2 separate regions of the Homo sapiens genome follow, and region 2 is linked to region 1. Evidence: promoter capture Hi-C in human tissues and cell types (Jung and others, 2019). All regions are on one chromosome and are shown on one strand. Each heading gives the region's core, a stretch centred on a gene start or on the middle of the fragment in contact. The rest is flanking DNA. Distances are from core to core; before and after follow the strand shown.

Region 1 (3,373 bases), core at 85-2,584:
AGTTAAAAGGAAAGAATGGCTGTGAAAATCGATGCATTGCGCTCCCTTGTCCCTCACCCTCAGTGTGAAGGGTTTTTATTCCGAGTTCTACTTGAAGTAGGCCTCGATGGGAAGACAAGTAGCATGAGGGGTTCAAGTACTGAGGGGAGCAAGGGACACTCGGTGGCTGTGCCAAGGTGTAGAAGAGGACACTGGGGGCCCCAAGGCCTGACTTCATGTACACTGCTCAGGCTGGCCCCCAAGTCACACGGTGACCGCTAGGAAGGGACCAGCCTGTTCTCAGTCTGATCCTCCTGCCATGTCATTATCCAAAGCTCCTCCTGGCAGGGCCTGTTTGGGGTCTCTGTGCCAGTGCTTTCCCTGCCAGGCTGGGCTGGGGCTTCCACCTACTGCTCTGGGACTGCTGCTGCCCTGGCCCTGGGGGAGGAGGGTGTGCCGCTGAGTCACTGCCTGGGCATCTGGGCCTGGAACCTCGGGTGAGTCACTTAGGGCTGAGGTAGAGGGGCTGGGGGAGGGGAAGAAGCTACTCGACAGCTGGAGCAGGGAGGGGAGCTGGGGCCACAGGAAGGGCGGTGCCCTGATGCCCAGACGGGCCGGGATAGACAAAGGGCCAAGGAGGAAGGGGCCCTGGGAGGGGGCAGCCCTCCCTTGGGCTGGGCTCTGAATGGCCACAGTGTTTGCCTTTCTCCGGGTCTGGGGAGGACATGTGTGTGGGGGGCAGTGAGAGAGGGCTGTGGCTGAGGGCTGTGCTTCAGGCCTGGATTCTGGCTTGGGAAGCTGTCCAGCTGGTGTTTTCAGCCTTGGGTAGGGATGTACCCCTACCCACCCACCCAGCCCTCAAGCTGGAGAAGAGGAGGCCAAAGTTTTCCTGTTCAGCCTTTAACTACTCGGGACTTCCTTATGCTCCCCACAGACTGTGGCCCAGCCCAACTGCGGCTGTGTGTAGAGCAACCCCATTTCTCACTGCTTCCCCATCCTTCCAGACACCTTCCTACACAGAGGGACCTTCCCAGGTATTTCTAAGCACACTTAGTTACCTCATTACCTCATTAAGAGGTATTCTGGTGCTGGCCATTAAAAGTCACTCCACTTCATCCATGCCCTGAAGTCAGTCCTGTCCTTCTCCTCCTGATGTCCCCCAGCTGCCTCCTCTGGCCCCCAGCTTCCTAAGGGTGGCCCCAGGTTGCTTCTCTCTCACACACACGGGCGCATGTATGTACACGAGCACTGGACCATGAAGTCTCAGCGTGTGCTCACAGCCTCTCACACAGGAGTGGGCTGTGACTCACAGGCATGTCATGAGAATGAGGCCTGGCACCAGTCTCCAGGCCCCAGAGCAGGGGTTGCCTCCCCTCACCCCGGTCCAGGATGCCCAGTCCCCACGACACCTCCCACTTCCCACTGTGGCCTGGGTGGGCTCAGGGGCTGCCCTTGACCTGGCCTAGAGCCCTCCCCCAGCTGGTGGTGGAGCTGGCACTCTCTGGGAGGGAGGGGGCTGGGAGGGAATGAGTGGGAATGGCAAGAGGCCAGGGTTTGGTGGGATCAGGTTGAGGCAGGTTTGGTTTCCTTAAAATGCCAAGTTGGGGGCCAGTGGGGCCCACATATAAATCCTCACCCTGGGAGCCTGGCTGCCTTGCTCTCCTTCCTGGGTCTGTCTCTGCCACCTGGTCTGGTGAGTACCTCTGTCCTGCTGAGGGCAGGGTGGGGAGGATCCCCGTGGGTCTCTGTCTTTGTCTCCACAGTTCTCTCATTCCAGCTTCCCTGGTGGGATCAACCTGGGCCTCTCTGGGCCTTCCCCCTTGGAAGAACTCTCTGTGAAGTGCTGAAGTGTTGACTGAAGGGTTTTTTTTTTTTTTTTTTTTTTTTGAGATGGAGTCTCGCTCTGTCGCCCAGGCTGGAGTACAGTGGTGTGATCTCAGCTCACTGCAAACTCCCCCTCCCAGGTTCACGCCATTCTCCTGCCTCAGCCTCCCGAGTAGCTGGGACTGCAGGCGCCCACCACCATGCCCGGCTAATTTTTTTGTATTTTTAGTAGAGATGGGGTTTCACCATGTTAGCCAGGATGGTCTCGATCTCCTGATCTCGTGATCCACCCATCTCGGCCTCCCAAAGTGCTGGGATTACAGGAGTAAGCCACCGCGCCCGGCCGACTGAAGGGTTTTTCTCCAGGTTCCTCTGTGAGGTCTCAGTGCAGGGGTTGCTCTGAGGCCCTCCCCTGGATATCTCAGTCTAGGGGCCCTTCTTTGGGGGTCTAGGCCTAGGAGCAGGAGGTGTGCATGTGGGCGTTGCTGCAAAAAGAATCCTGAGATTTTTTTTTTTTTTTGCAAAGTCCTGGATTCTAGCAGGACTAAGGTGCAAGAGGCAGGGGTCTCAAGACTCTGCCTGGGTCATGGCCCCAAGCAGCAAAGCTCTGCCCCCTGCCTCGGTGAAGGCAGGGCTGGCATGATGGGCCCAGGGCATGCCCTGCCTCTGGCATAGCTCCTCTGGCCTCACCCTGAAACCTGCCTAACCTTTCCAGGCTGGTCTGAGTATTCTCAGAGGCCTTGCCGCTGAGGTCTGTCCCATCCTGATCCCAAGGCAATGAACATTTCATATCTTTAATTCTAATTCCAACAGGATCCTTCCTGGTGGAGAGAATGTTAAGTTGCCCCCACCCTATCCATGCCCCTGTCTGCCTAGAGGCTCAGGGGCCTTCAGGGTGAGGGGAGACACATTCCCCACCCTCTGGGAGCTCCTAGTCTGAGAGAGGAAACACTCCTGCCCAAGGGAGCTTCCAGTTAGATGGCAGAGAGAGATGCCTCTGGCTTCAGGAGTCCCGAGTCTAAGGAGGGAAACGACTCCTTCAGGGAGCTTCCTGCTCCTAGGCTGTAGCCATGGCTCCTGCCAGACTGCACAGGAGCCCCCATCTGCCAGCCGGTGCATGTGGCCCTGCTCCCCAGAGCCTGCGCAGATGCCATCAAAATGGGACTCTGGTCACCCTGTCATTTCCCTTCTGGCAGACACTAAAATGGGGAGCCCTGCCCTCAGGGGGGTGTCCCAAGTGCCATCAGAGGAGGCTTGGTGACTCCCAGACACAAGGGAAGCTTTAGCGTCTGCCCTCAGGGTGAGATGGAGGTATCGCCTCCGGCCTCAGGGAACCACAGTCTGAGGGGGAGATGCAGCCCCTGCCTTCCCATTCAGAGAGGGGTTTTGTGAGGTGGCTTGGGGGCATAGGGCAGAAGTGGATCCTACAGGCTGAGCTAAGGCCCCAAGAGCCTCAGCAGTGTACCCATCACCTGGCACCTCTGCAGCCACAGATCCATGATGTGCAGTTCTCTGGAGCAGGCGCTGGCTGTGCTGGTCACTACCTTCCACAAGTACTCCTGCCAAGAGG
Region 2 (2,967 bases), core at 338-2,837, 180 kb after region 1:
TGATCATCTGCTGGCAGAGCAGAGTGGCCTTTGGTTGTTGCCAACACCTCCTGCTGTACCTGAGTAAACACCTCAGGGATTGTACAGACACAGGGGAAGGGATCCACAGGCAGACCCAGCCCGTTGGTTTCAAACAGTGAGGCCATCTGAAGGATCCTTCTTTGGCCTTTTTGTAAAAAAAAAAAATTATTTTAGATTCAGGATATACATGTGCAGGTTTGTTACATGGGTATATTGCATGATGCTGAGGCTTGGGCTGCGAATGATCTCATTGCCCAAATAGTGAACATAGTACCTGTTAGGTAACTTTTCAACCCTGGTGCCCCTCCTGCCCTCCCTCCTTTTGGAATCCCCAGTGTCTACCACTCCCATCTTTTTGTCTGTGTGTACTCAGTGTTTAGCTCTCACATATAAGTGAGAAATTCTGGTATTTGGTTTTCTGTTTCTACATTAATTCACTTAGCGTAATGGCCTCCAGGTGCATCCATGTTGCTGCAAAGGACATGATAGTGTTCTTTTTTATGCTTCATAGTATTGACATATATGACATATATGTACTACATTTTCTTTATCCAACCCACCATTGATAGGTACCTGGGTAGATTCCATGTCTTTGCTAATGTGAATAGTGCTTTGATAAACATACTAGTGCAGGTGTCTTTTCCTTTGGGTATATACTCAGTAACGGGATTGATGGGTTGAATGGCAATTCTATTTTTAGTTCTTTGAGAAATCTCCAAAATGCTGAACTAATTTGCATTCTACCAACAGTATATAATCATTCCTTTTTCTCTCCAACCTTGCCAACAACTGTTATTTTTTTGACTTTTAAATAATAGTCATCCTGACTGATGTGAGATGATATTTCTTGTGGTTTTGATTCACATCTCTCTGATGATTAGTTTTTGCATGTTTGTTGGCTACTTGTGTTTCTTTTTGAGAAATGTCTGTTCATGTTCTATGCCCACTTTTTAATGGGGTTATTTGTTTTCTTCTTGTTAAGTTGTTTGAGTTCCTTATAGATTCTGGGTATTAGCCCTTTGTCAGATGCATAGTTTGTGAATATTGCCTCCCATTCTGTAGATTGTCTGTTTACTCTGTTATTAGTTTCTTTCACTGCGTGGAAGCTTTTTAGTTTAATTAGGTCCCATATCAGTTTTCGTTTTTGTTGCATTGCGTTTGAGGACTTAACCATAAATTCTTTGCCTAGAACATGTCTAGAAGAGTATTTCCTAGGTTTTCTTCCAGGATTTTAATAGTTTAAGGTCTTAACATTTAAGTCTTTAATCCATCTTGAGTTAATTTTTGTATGTGGTGAGAGGTAAGGGTCCAGTTTCATTCTTCTGCATATGGTTAGCCAGTTTCCCCAGCACCATTTATTGAATAAGATTTCCTTTCCCCATTGTTTATTTTTGCCAGCCTTGTTCAAGGTCAGTTGGTTGTAGGTATGTGGTTTTATTTCAGTGGTCTCCATGCTGTTCCATTGGTCTATGTGTCTATTTTTGTACCAATACCATGCTGTTTTGGTTACTGTAGACTTGTAGTGTAGTTTGAAATTGGGTAATGTGGTACCTCTGGTTATATTCTTTTTTGCTTAAGATTGCTTTGGCTATTTGTGCTCTTTTTGCTTCTATATGAATTTTAGACGAGTTTTGTAAAGTTGTGTGAAAAATGACCTTGGTAATTTGATAGGAATAGCATTGAATCTATAGATTGCTTTGGGCAATGTGGACTTATTAACTATATCAATTCTTCCAATCCATGAGCATGGCATGCTTTTTCATTTGTTTGTGTCATCTATGATTTCTTGTAGCAGTGTTTTGTAGTTCTTTTTGTAGAGGTCTTTCACTTTGCTGGTTAGATATTTTCTTAGGTATTTTATTTTTTGTGTGTGGCTGTTGTAAATGGAATTGCATCTTTGATTTGGTTCTCAGCTTGAATATTATTGGTGTATAGAAATGCTACTGATTTTTCTATGTTGATTTTGTTTTCTGAGATTTGCTGAAGTTGTTTATCAGGTCTAGGAGTCTTTTGGAAGAATCTTTAGAGTTTTCTGGACATAGAATCATATTGTCAGTGAAAAGAAGTAATTCGCTCTTTTTCAATTTGGGTTCCTTTTATCTCTTTCTCATGTCTAATTGCTCTGGCTAGGACTTTCAGTACTATGTTGAATAGGAATAGTGAGAGTAGACATCCTTGTCTTGTTCCAGTTCTTAGGCAGAATGCACCTAACTTATGCTTATTCAGTATGATGTCAACTGTGGGTTTGTCATAGATGGCTCTTATTATTTTGAGGTATGTTTCTTTGATGTCTATTTTATTGAGAGCTTTCATCATGAAGAAATGTTGAATTTTTATTGAATGCTTTTCTGCATTGATTGAGATGATCATATAGTTTTTGTTTTTAATTCTGTTTATGTGGTGAATCACATGTATTTATTTGCATATGTTGAACCATCCCTGCATTCCAGGAATAAAGCCCACTTATTTGGGAAATCAACTTTTTGATATGCTGCTGTATTTGGTTTTCTAGTATTTTGTTGAAGAGTTTTATGTCTATGCTCATCAGGGATATTGGTCTGTAGTTTTCTTTTTTTGTTGTGCCTTTGCCAAATTTTGGTGTCATGAGGATATTGGTTTCATAGAATGAGTTAGGGAGGAGTCCCTCCTTGATTTTTTGTAATAGTTTCTTTAGGATTGATACCAGGTCTTCTTTGTAGATCTAGTAGAATTTGACTATGAATCCGTCTGATACAGGGTTTTTTGTTGTTGCTATTGTTGGTAGGTGTTTTATTACTGATTTATTTTCATTACTTGTTATTGGTCTGTTCAGAAATTCTATTTCTTCTTGACTCAGTCTTGGGAGGTTGTGTTTCCAGGAATGTATTGATTTCCTCTAGATTTTCTAGTTTGTACTCATAGAGAGGTTCATATCTCTGAGGATCTCTTGTATTTCTGTGGAATCGG

What was found. Contacts are between HindIII fragments. The study calls those that stand out against the background at their distance.
Region 2: a fragment that was not itself captured here is called in contact with the fragment with the promoter of S100A2 in region 1 in 1 of the 25 tissues and cell types used here (spleen).

The regions. Positions count from the first base shown.
Region 1 is chr1:153,563,805-153,567,177 of GRCh38, reverse strand. S100A2 (S100 calcium binding protein A2) reads left to right here and starts at 1,334. Exons shown (of 3, transcript NM_005978.4): 1 at 1,334-1,672; 2 at 3,291-3,373. The coding sequence starts at 3,301. RefSeq lists enhancers at 173-412, 110-1,309, 1,283-1,342, 1,462-2,219, 2,220-2,977. The HindIII fragment of the contact is 11,510 bases long and covers 1-3,373 here.
Region 2 is chr1:153,381,463-153,384,429 of GRCh38, reverse strand. No RefSeq gene overlaps it. Among named protein-coding and RNA genes, the nearest start is that of S100A12, 7.3 kb to the right of the region's middle. The HindIII fragment of the contact is 6,662 bases long and covers 1-2,967 here.